Linked DNA regions of Homo sapiens: all the other regions are linked to region 1. The links are contacts of gene promoters, found by promoter capture Hi-C in blood cells and fetal thymus (Javierre and others, 2016). All regions are on one chromosome and are shown on one strand. Each heading gives the region's core, a stretch centred on a gene start or on the middle of the fragment in contact. The rest is flanking DNA. Distances are from core to core; before and after follow the strand shown.

Region 1 (3,950 bases), core at 805-3,304:
TCCTCAGATATGCATGTATGTGTATAAATGCATTTAAAAAAGAGTAGGAGGGCCAGGCGCAGTGGCTCACGCCTGTAATCCCAGCACTTTGGGCCGCCGAGACGGGCAGATCATTTGAGGTCAGGAGTTCAAGACCAGCCTGGCCAACATAGCGAAACCCTGTCTCTACTAATACAAAAATTAGCCAAGCATGGTGGGGCATGCCTGTAATCCCAGCTACTGGGGAAACTGAGGCAGAAGAATTGCTTGAGCCCAGGAGGCAAAGGTTGCTGTGAGCAGAAATAATGCCATTGAACTCCAGCCTGGGCAACGGGAGGAAAAGATATGCCAAAAAAGGTAACTGTGGTTACTTCTAAGAAAAGGACTGAGGCTGGGCACGGTGGCTCACGCCTGTAATGCCAGCACTTTAGGAGGCTGAGGCGGGTGGATCACTTCAGGCCAGGAGTTCAAGACCAGCCTGACGAACACAGTGAAACCCTGTCTCTACTAAAAATACAAAAAAAAAAATCAGTCGTGCATGGTGGCACATGCCTGTAGTCCCAGCTACTTGGGAGGCTGAGGCAGGAGAACCGCTTGAACTCAGGAGGCAGAGGTTGCAGTGAGCCAAGATTGCATCACTGCACTCCAGCCTGGGTAACAGTGAGACTCCGTCTCAAAAAAAAAAAAAAAGAAAGAAAAGAAAAGAAAAGAAAAAAAAAAAGAAATGGACTGGAATTGGGGATGTTATCAAAGATGATTTTATCGGGGGCCAGGCACGGTGGCTCACGCCTGTACTCCCACCACTTTGGGAGGCAGAGGCGGGTGGATCACCTGAAGTCGGGATTTCAAGACCAGCCTGATCAACATGGAGAAACCCCATCTCTACTAAAAATACAAAATTAGCCGGGCGTAGTGGAACATGCCTGTAATCCCAGCTACTCGGAAGGCTGAGGCAGGAGAATTGCTTGAACCCGGGAGGCGGAGGTTGTGGTGAGCCGAGATCGCACCACTGCATTCCAGCCTGAGCAACAAGAGCGAAACTCAGTCTCAAAAAAAATAAAAAGATGATTTTACCCTTATTTCCTATGTTTTAATTTGCTATTGGAAGAAGTAATTCCTATATAATGTGTAATTACACAACACGTATAAAAAAAAAAAAAAACTTAACACCTTTCCTGCAGGAATTTCCCTTCTAATACCCTTATGCACTTGGCCTGATCCAGTTAAGGCTCACAGAGATAAAGGGCCAGCGGGTATAATTTTTTACCATCCTTGATGACAAGACATTCAGAATTCTTTCACCATCACCACCACTTTTCTATTCATTGCCCAACTCATTTCCATGGTCCTAGCACAAAATACTCACTGGTGGAAGGAGTGAGGATCATCCACATCGTGGCCATCGGGGGCCAAAGGGTTGGAGAACGGCTCACCTGACAAAAAAAATTGACGTTAATTTAATCAGTCTCTTACGTGTCAGATCCTATGCAAAAATTTGAGATATAGTAGTGAACAATACAGAACAAAAGTTAGAACAGCGACAGTGTCAACACAATGTAATAAGTGCTGAAATAGGAAACTACAAGAAGCTGTGGGAGCACAAAGCAGAGGACCCTAATCCTGCGCTGGAGGATCAGAGAAGACTTCCGGAAGATCACGTCTAAAATACTACGTAAAAGATAAATACGCGCAACCCAGGATTAAGTATGGGGACAGGACTGGGGGAAAGCGATCCACGCACAAAAGCCGCCCATCATCACTTGGAGTAGGAGTGAGGACTGGGGACGGAGTTTGGAGCTGTCGGCCTCACTTAGGACCCTGTGGCTTCTCCGGGCTCAAGCGTCACACATACATACATACACACACACACACACACACACACACACACACACACACCCGGCTTAAGCTCAGAAGCTACAATAATGCGCCAAGTGCCCCAAGTGCCATGGGGAAGAAATAACGGATGGCCTGAGCCTTACTATCTCGCTCCGGCATTTTGTTATCGTTCTTTCGCTGTCACCAACAATCGAGTCTCCAACAGCAACACCGCAGCGACAAGCTCTTTCCCACAGTGCACCTCAGAATCAACCCACACTGCTTTGCGTTCGCAGCCTTTCCGCTTCCTGTTTTTCCCTCCGACCAACCCCGAGCGCAAAGAAATTGACCTCGCAGCGGTCCTACAATACTTTTATATCATTGGCCAAGCTTTACCCCGCCCCTGCCTCATGCAGCCTATGGGCTAGGCTTTAGGGTCCGCGGTTGGTCAGACCGGAGCACTTGGCCTGAAGACCTGGAATTGGCGACTTCGATATTAACAAGGATGGCGGCGGCCGCAGCAAGTCGAGGAGTCGGGGCAAAGCTGGGCCTGCGTGAGATTCGCATCCACTTATGTCAGCGCTCGCCCGGCAGCCAGGGCGTCAGGTGAGGCGCGGCGTGGTGAGGCGGGCGGGCTTCGGGACGCCAGGGTCACGACCTCGACCTCCCTGAAGTTGAGGGAAGCCCCCGCCCACAGCACGCGCGGCGCTCTCTCCGGCCCCGCAGGGACTTCATTGAGAAACGCTACGTGGAGCTGAAGAAGGCGAATCCCGACCTACCCATCCTAATCCGCGAATGCTCCGATGTGCAGCCCAAGCTCTGGGCCCGCTACGGTGAGTGCGGGACGCCAGGGGTCTGGGGCTCCGGTAGGGGAACAAGGGTTTGAGAAGAGAAGGGACCGCCCAAGGTCGTGCAGAAACCCGTGGAGAAACTAGAACTCGGACTTTAGCCTTGCTGTTGATCTTGTTTCCATGAAGAAATTTATATTCGCAGGGTTATATGATGCGTTGTATTCCGGGCAACATAAGTATGCAGGCTGACCGAATCCTGCGTAGGGACCAGGAGCTGACGTTTTTGTAGTTAAGAATGGGCTTCAGACAGGAGAGAAGTTAGTCAATATAGTTTCTCCAAATAACGTGTAGCCAGTGTCAGTCCAGGTAGTGTGTGAGAATCTCAGTAATTTTGCACATAGAGCTGGGCCCTGTGCTGAGTGCTTCCCTGCCTAACTCATTTAATCTTCATTAGTTAGGAGGAAGCGTGTTCTTCTTTTCTCACTGTAGAGATTAGAAAACGGAATCAAAACTTTGTTTTGCACTATTGTTAAACTCTAGCTGCAACTTTAGATGCAGCTAGAGTTTAACAGGATTGAGCCTTTACATTTATTCCCCTTCCTAGAATGCACTTACCCCTCTAAGACTGGCATGGCAATGTATTGCAAAATGAAATTTTCCTATCATGTTGCCTAACACATTGTAGGTATGCAATAAATGTTTATACATACTGAATAACAGGATTTTAATCACAGCTTTTAACTATATGGTGCCCTGGGAATGACGGGAGGAGGTGGAGGAGAGTGACCACCTTAAGCAGATTGGTTCTCAGAGTAGATATCTGTGAGACACAGTAGACATTAGACATGCACTAATAATTGGAGAAGGAAAAAAGCTTCTCCTTCCAAAAGCCAGTAGACTACAGGAGGAGATAGACACGAGTAACTTTAGTGTATTGTGCTGGGTATTATGTTAGATAGCCTATGGGAGCCTAGAGAATGGGTACCCAGCTGGGTGCGGTGGTTCACGCCTGTAATCCCAGCACTTTGGGAGGCTGAAGCAGGTGGATCACCTGAGGTCAGGAGTTCAAGACCAGCCTGGCCAACATGGTAAAACCCCGTCTCTACTAAACATACAAAAATTAGCCGGGTGTGGTGGCGGGCACCTGTAATCCCAGCTACTCAGGAGGCTGAGGCAGGAGAATTGCTTGAACCCAGGAGGTGGAGGTTGCAGTGAGTGGAGATCGTGCCACCACACTCCAGCCTGGGTGACAGAGCGAGACTCCGTCTCAAAAAAAAAAAAAAAAAAAGAGAGAGAATGGGCTCCCAGCTGAGGCTGGACCCATGCAATACATTGCTCACCGTAGTTAATAATAAATGCCTACAG
Region 2 (3,950 bases), core at 441-2,940, 960 kb before region 1:
AGAACCAAAGAGAACAGTACATGATATATGGAAGTTTCTTTAGATCCTAAGTACTTTGGCATGAAATTCTGTGTGTGTTTGTGTTAGAACATAGTTCAACACAAGTACAATTGCTAGAAGTATCAGAACAACCTTATTTTAACACTTATATTTCTGGTGGTAGAGAAATAATAAGATTTCATCTTCATGCTCATCTCCCCTCCTCCCTAAGATTTTTTCAAAATCTTATTCTGAATGTGTACCGGGCCAAAAAATATTTTCTGTGGTTTCGTAGGATCAAGTCTGGCTTATTGAGTAGTAGTATAATTTTTGGATTAGTTAAGCGGTTGTCAGTAGGGGTAGGATTATTTCTGGGTATTCAGGAGTGGTGTGAGGATACAAAAAAGAGATTATTTAGAAATGAAAGGACTTTAGGAATGGGATTTAAAACAAGGTGTCCTCATACTTGGTGCCTGTATGTAGAAGCGGTAGCAGTTGCAGAAACTTCCTGCTGTCTGCTAGGCTTTGGGTGTGTCACACACATGCCCACCCTTGAGGAAGAGTAGATGTCCTGCTACTCACATCATAACATGGGAGGAGAAGACAGTTGCTACGGCGATTGGGAAACAGCATTCCTGAGTCACTGACTATTTCTAAATGAATGGACAACACCCCTTTTTTTAAAGGAGTGATCATAGTCTTCTCTAAGCTTAGGCAGCAGAGGGAGAGGCCTAGTAAGAAAGGAAGAGCAAGTATCAATATTTGAAGCTTGAGAAATATGTTGAAATTTTGGAAAAATTGGTTAACATTATGTTTTGTTTCCTGTATATGTATTCAAAAGTTGTATTGGAACCTTAGAATGTTTGAAAGGAAGGAAGCTTTGCTTACTGTTCTGTCACCAAATGACAGACTATGCATGCTGGCTTTCACCTTCTGAACAGCAGAAGATACCGGTGTGCCTGCTACACCTTGTGATACTTGATAGGAAAGTAGGACTTCCAGACTCTGAGCACTTTCTCTGTTGGCAGCTTGTTTGCCCAAACCATGTGTGCTTTATAGTGCAAGGACTGGCAGTTTGTATGGATGGACTTGGAGGAATGCAGCATCCTCAGCCCGGTTTCTACCTGTTCTGCTGTGCTGGAATAGTGATACCAGCGTGGCCTTTCCTCCTTCCCTCTGGGCTATCAACTACCTAGGATGCCGGCTGCCAGTTGCAGGGCTTTAGGATGAGCTGAGCTGTAGGCAAAAAGTTACTTTTTCCCTTTCCCCAAGGTACTTGCCTTCTTGAACTATTAGAGAAGTGATACTTTGGACCTGTTAGAGGATCCAATTCTAATATTAAGATAGTTTTCCCCTCATTTTAATTATAATTGGGAAATAAGGTTTATTGGAAAGCAGACTCACCAACAGTTTTAGACAGTTGTGCAGGACATTAAGTTAGTTGCTTTACATTTATAAGTAAATTATTTCAAATTTATAAGCAAATTATTGAAATACAGAATGGACTACAGTTACTACTGTTCTTTATACGGCATTTCTAACTTGTGCTTGACACTGGCCACTGCCTAGAATCTTTCATTGTTCCCGGGTGGGGTTAGGAAAAAGATGCTGATTTTGGAAGGCAGGGGTAGATTGATAGAACTCTTTTAATTAGGAATAAAAGATATTGGACTGTCTTTTACTATGTTTCCTTTGTTGGCTGTTGTATGAATTCTAACAAGTTTATTATTTATTTATGTTTTCTCAGCTTTATTGAGGTATAATTGACATACAAATTGTTTATGGTATACAACATGATGTTTTGATATATGTATACATTGTGGAACTAATGAGTTTAACTCTCCAGTGCTTAGTTTAGCTGTGGGGCTGCTGAGGCACTCTGAACCAAATGGAGGAGCTGCTACAGTCTTACCTAATCCTTCAGCACTTTTTCCTCAGTGGTCATGGAGAACATGAGCCTATCATTTCCATTTCTGGGGACTGCTAGGTAATCTTCAGCCTTCTTTCCCTTAAACACATTTAGCTTTTCTAGGTTTATAGTTTATATTTTTAAATTCCTGGTCATTTTGTGCCCCTCTTCTAGACTTCCTTTCCTCTGAGGTACCCTTTTTCTTTCCTTTATTTTCTTTTTGAAGTGGGTACTCCAACTCTACACAACGCCTGTGTAGGCTGCAGGCACCAATAAGTGGTGATGTCAGAATCTAGTTTGTTTCTCTGTAAATGCTAGATGAAATGTTGATTCAATTGCTGTTGTCTTTGGGCCATTCCTTGAAAATGGAAGGGAAAGTTCTTCTGTGCATTTAAAGTTGTCCATTATTTCATTTTCTTTAGTTCTGACTGACTTCTGTTTAAGGAGTGGGAATTGAAGAAGGGAAACTAGCCAGTTTCAGTGGTTCCATCATATATTATTTAACTTTTACAAAGTACTTTGCAAAACAAAGTGCTTTATATCTGTTTTATTATTTATTCTTCATACTAGTCCTCTGAGACAACAGAACCCTAGAGATAGGAAGACTGAAACTGTGGTCGATTTTTAAAAGCTTACCCTGACTTTACATTCCTTTAGTGGAAATGTGATAAATTTTGTGGCAAAGGCCAGGCGTGGTGGCTCACGCTTGTAATCCCAGCACTTTGGGAGGCCAAGGCAGGTGGATCACGAGGTCAGGAGTTCAAGACCATCCTGGCTAATACGGTGAAACCCCGTCTCTACTAAATATACAAAAAATTAGCCGAGTGAGGTGATGGGCGCCTGTAGTTCCAGCTACTCGGGAGGCTGAGACAGGAGAATGGTCTGAACGCAGGGGCGTAGCTTGCAGTGAGCCAAGATTGCGCCACTGCACTCCAGCATAGGCAACAGAGTGAGACTTCGTCTCAAAAAAAAAAATTTTTTTTTGTGGCAAAGCTAGATCAGGCCTCAATGGTAACTGAATTCAAGATCCTATTATGACCCTCTGTTGCCTCAGTACCCTAAGGAACTGTGTCAATCCTGAATAAAGAAATTAATCAGAGCTGGACCCTTATCTCTCTGTTCTGCATGATTCTAAGTGACATATGCCTTACCTTACCTGTTCTTTCTGGGTAGGTAGATTAGGATATGAAAGGAAATTATTTTTGGCTGTAGTGATACTTATTTCCCATTTTACCCATAGGTAGACTTTGTCATTATTGAGGGCTTATTGTCCTGTGGGCTCCAGTCAAGGTTCCTTGGTCTCATTCATAAGGAAAGACATTACTCTTGAAGGTTTGATTTACTGAGCTATTCGTAACAATCATAGTGTACTGTCATATACCTTGAATTGAAACTTTTCCTTACTTTTCTCAATTTGAATAGAGTAATGAAAGAATAAATATACTGTTTCGGATGATGCTCCTAAACCTGTAGTGATGCTAATTTTAAAATTTATTTATTAAAATGTGGGCCACATCAGTTGAATAAGACATGATTTTGCCCTCATGCAATTTAGTCTGGTTCACAGAAAAAGTTACAACAAATGATCTGTTAAGAAGGTTCTAATATAGTCCCGGTGCGGTGGCTCACGCCTGTCATCCCAGCACTTTGGGAGGCTGAGGCAGATGGATCGCTTGAGGTCAGGAATTCAAAATCAGCCTGACCAATATGGCGAAACCCTTTCTCTACTAAAAAAATAGAAAAGTTAGCCAGATATAGTGGTGTGCAACTGTAATCCCAGCTACTCGGGAGGCTGAGGCAGGAGATCACTTGAACCTAGAAGGCGGAGGTTGCAGTGAGCCAAGATCACACCGCACGTTAGCCTGGGTGACAGAGTGATACTTCATCTCAAAAAAGAGGGAGTAGTTCTTTTTTTTTTTTTTCTGTGTCTAAGATTTTATTTTTATTTTATTTTTATTTTTTATTTTTATTTATTATACTTTAAGTTCTAGGGTGTATGTGTACAACGTGCAGGTTTGTTACATATGTATACATGTGCCATGTTGGTGTGCTGCACCCGTTA
Region 3 (3,950 bases), core at 1,172-3,671, 930 kb before region 1:
ATTGTCTAGGATGAGGGTTTCTTTTTACTATTCTTTTTTTTTTTAATTCAGAAGTGGCACAATGTTATTTTTAAAACTCAAACGATATAGAAGTATATAAAGTAAAATTTAACTGCCTCATCCCTTTGCCAAATCCTATTCTGCAAAGAGAATGACTGTTAATGGCATGGTATAGTCTCATAGAACGTTTCCTAAGCATAGACAAACATATTGCGTTCCCTTGATTCTAGACATCTGCCACCGCAAAAGATAGTATCTTAAGAGCTGAGGAATGACACTTATGCCTATAAAACTAACTGCATATATAGGATAGATTTTTATTATTGAAGAGGGATTTGGTTTAACCAAAGCTAAATCATTCTTTTCAACCTGTTTCTTTTTAATAGTAGATCTTGGACATTTCTTCTATGTCGGTACTTACAGATCTACCTTATTATCTTTAGTAGCTATTTAGTATTCCATATACATGTATGTATGGCCTATAATTTATTTAACAATTCCCCTGTTGCTGGACTTACAGATTTTTTTTTTTTCCTTTTTTTTTTTTGAGACGGAGGCTCGCTCTGTTCCCCAGGCTGGAGTGCAGTGGCGCGATCTCGGCCCACTGCAAACTCCTCCTCCCAGGTTCAAGCGATTCTCCTTCCTCAGCCTCCCGAGTAGCTGGGACTACAGGAGTCCGCCACCACGCCTGGCTAATTTTTGTATTTTTAGTAGAGATGGGGTTTCTCCCTATTGGCCAGGCTGGTCTCGAACTCCTGACCTTGTGATCCGCCCGCCTCGGCCTCCCAAAGTGCTAGGATTACAAGCGTGAGCCACTGCGCCCAGCCAACTTACAGATATTTTTTAAAGCAGATTTCACTATCTGTTCTAGGTGATCATTTTTACAAATGATACTGCAGTGAACATCCTTGTGCATATCTTCTTTCACATTTATGCCCATATGTTGGATACATTTCTAGAAGTAGACTATATGTTACATGCATGAGAAATTGATTAGTACTGTTAAATGCCCCTCCAAAAGTTGTATCAATTTATACTTCATTGAATAGGGGACTTGATTTGGTATTTATGGACAGGAGCCTAGGGATGGATTGTAGGGAATGCATTTCCCTGAAGAGATGGTCCTTAGCTTTCAGCAGTTTCTGGAAACTGAGTGGTGAGAATAATAATGTGAGAAATCCGGAACACTGATAATGTCCTGTTTCCTAATCGGTCTGTGCCCCTGTGTAATTTACTCATTATACGTGTCCGTGTCACAGTACCTGGAAAGTTCTCTCCGTTTCCTTTCTCTTGGGCAGGAATGAAAGGGTTTTGGAGGCAATGACAGAAAGAGCTGAGATGGATGAAGTGGAACGTTTCCAGCCGCTGCTGGATGGATTAAAAAGTGGAACCACTATTGCACTGAAGGCATGTATATCCCCTGAAACTGGGCCCAAGAATAGAATTCAAGATGGACAGACTTAAATTCATTTGACCTTTTAATAAAATACATGGAGTGCCTCCCAACTATATATTTTACATTTCAGAATCTGTTATGAAGGGAAAATGATTAACCTTCTTTCTAAGAAGGTAAAGAATGAACTGTTTTCCTCATTATGAGATGGAAAAAGGCATGATATCTATTTACAATCTAGGAAAACCAAGACCTACAATAACATATACTCTCAAATCCTTGAAACCATTTAGAGTTTAGGCTCTCCGGATCTGTACTCAAACCAGGTCTCATTGCTATAGTAGAAAAGTCATCTTTAGAGTTTTTGTATTGTATCTTTCAGGTTGTATTGGGGACCTAAGAATGCATGTAAAGAAAATGGATTCTTGATCTCCAGGAGTTAGCATTGACATAGCTGCTGAATTTTCTTATTTTAGGTTGGATGCCTACAGCTGATCAATGCTCTCATCACACCAGCGGAGGAACTTGACTTCCGAGTTCACATCAGAAGTGAACTGATGCGTTTGGGGCTACATCAGGTGTTGCAGGTAAGATATTACACTTCATTAGAAAGGCTAGACTGGTTCCTTCTTGCTCTACAGCCCCAATAATCCCGGGGATAATTCTGGTTTTCAATTAAAAACCAGGTTGAAAAGCTTAGGTTTCTAACCACAGAGGATACTTTTGGGTTCCCTGACTTCTACTTTTGTTGTTGACAGGACCTTCGAGAGATTGAAAATGAAGATATGAGAGTGCAACTAAATGTGTTTGATGAACAAGGGGAAGAGGATTCCTATGACCTGAAGGGACGGCTGGATGACATTCGCATGGAGATGGAATATCCTTTTGCTGACTAGGTTCAAGGCAGATGAGACATTCATTGTATTTAGTTCCCTGATCCCTGTGTGGAATGGTTTGGGAGATGATGACTCAGAACAGAGCATCAGGCTTATGTGTCTTCTCATTAAATAAGGCAGGTGTATTTTTATTGCGCTGGCTTTACTTAGCTTATCATAGATCAGGGAAGTCAGTAAAGGTGATCTGAGGGTTGTTGAGCATGGAAGCCATCAAAATCAGTGTAAACTTCCTAGAATGTGATAGCTTAGCTTACTAAGATGTAGAACTGGCTTTTAGAGATGTTTGGACTGACAGAGGGAGTAATTTAGTTACCTGTTAATATTTTCAGTAAGTGACTTTGAGGCAGTTACCTCTTATTTTCTGTCTACTGCCTGATCTTCAAGCCAAGTACTTACTAGGAATCCTCTGTGTGTATAGTACCACCCAATTCACTGGTCCCTTAAAGGACGTTTTAGAAAGCTTAAAGTTTCTGGTGATGTTTACAGGAAGAACAGCCAGTAGAATGGAAGTGGTGTCTTGCTACTTTTCCCTAGCTTTTTCAAGAGTTAAATAAGCCACCTGTCAAACATAATTTCTGCATATTTGCTTTCCTTAGCCTATTTCCCTTTTCCACTGACTTTAATGAAGTCTTTCAGATTCTCTTAAACACAGTGAAGGATTCAAAGGCAGAGCCACACTTCCTTTCCATCCTGCAGCACTTACTCTTGGTCCGAAATGACTATGAGGCCAGGTAAGATGCTGTGCTTATGAGAAGTTTTGAATTTGAGCCTAAGTGGAGAGAGTGAATTCCTTAAATTCAAAGATTGTTCTGTAAAAGGAAAATGTAAAGACAAAGACCCAAGATTAGGGTTCATTAGTCACCGATATAAAGGAAGTTGTCTTATTTCTTTAATCCAACTCAAAGGCATCCCTATGGCAGAGGTCAGAGTGTATAAGGTGAAATGCCGTTCTGTTTTTGGAGGGGAGTAGGTAAATAGGATGAAGATGTTAGCAAACAGAAGTGGCAATTTAAAATTCTTTCTAGTTTCCTGGAAGTATAGATTTAGCAATAGCACTATCCATCACAGGAAGGATCAAACGCAAATTTTTAGATGGGAAAGTATTGGCACTAGGAGCGGATGGCAAGAAGTTTTGATTATTTGAAGTAGATAGGGTAGGGTAGCTGATGTGGAAAAAGGAGTTTTCTTAGCATGGCAGCAATACTTGTGTTAACTTTACAAAAGTTTTTCCAGGTCTCTCAGTTGTCAGAGCAATTACGTTTTCTTGGTCCTGAATACTTCTGAAAATTATATTTTGATTTTCCTTTGATGACCCTGTTTTTATTCTCTTGTAGACCTCAGTACTATAAGTTGATTGAAGAATGTATTTCCCAGATAGTTCTGCACAAGAACGGGGCTGATCCTGACTTCAAGTGCCGGCACCTCCAGATTGAGATTGAGGGATTAATTGGTAAGCATACTCTTCTATCTGGCTCCTCCAAGTATTGCTTCTTCCTTTCATTTTGCATCTTGTTTCAGTGAAAATGTCAGAGAAGATACCTTTCCAGTCCCCAGATAGTTCTATTTTTGTCCTTTCTTAGGTCATAACCAGCATCTTTGCTAGGAATCTATAGGTCTTTAGTTTATTTTTAGATAAAACACACACCAGCACCTTTTGCAGG

The links. Contacts are between HindIII fragments. The CHiCAGO score rates a contact against its expected background, and 5 or more counts as called.
Region 2: a contact is called between a fragment that was not itself captured here and the fragment with the promoter of IK in region 1, in 1 of 17 cell types (M0 macrophages). The highest score is 7.6, in M0 macrophages.
Region 3: a contact is called between a fragment that was not itself captured here and the fragment with the promoter of IK in region 1, in 2 of 17 cell types (M0 macrophages and erythroblasts). The highest score is 6.0, in M0 macrophages.

The regions. Positions count from the first base shown.
Region 1 is chr5:140,645,933-140,649,882 of GRCh38, reverse strand. It overlaps IK (IK cytokine), which reads right to left and starts at 2,054. Exons shown (of 20, transcript NM_006083.4): 1 at 1,959-2,054; 2 at 1,346-1,412. The coding sequence starts at 1,974. NDUFA2 (NADH:ubiquinone oxidoreductase subunit A2) reads left to right here and starts at 2,253. Exons shown (of 3, transcript NM_002488.5): 1 at 2,253-2,400; 2 at 2,521-2,627. The coding sequence starts at 2,300. MIR3655 (microRNA 3655) reads right to left here and starts at 2,039; the gene lies at 1,957-2,039. It also overlaps a transcript of TMCO6 not described here. RefSeq lists enhancers at 1,980-2,515, 2,256-2,675. The HindIII fragment of the contact is 8,030 bases long and covers 1-2,186 here.
Region 2 is chr5:141,601,137-141,605,086 of GRCh38, reverse strand. The region is part of intron 1 of DIAPH1 (diaphanous related formin 1); the gene reads left to right. Among named protein-coding and RNA genes, the nearest start is that of DIAPH1, 16 kb to the left of the region's middle. The HindIII fragment of the contact is 1,662 bases long and covers 860-2,521 here.
Region 3 is chr5:141,576,545-141,580,494 of GRCh38, reverse strand. It overlaps DIAPH1 (diaphanous related formin 1), which reads left to right. Exons shown (of 28, transcript NM_005219.5): 9 at 1,299-1,407; 10 at 1,870-1,980; 11 at 2,152-2,270; 12 at 2,904-3,020; 13 at 3,624-3,739. Among named protein-coding and RNA genes, the nearest start is that of DIAPH1-AS1, 20 kb to the right of the region's middle. The HindIII fragment of the contact is 661 bases long and covers 2,091-2,751 here.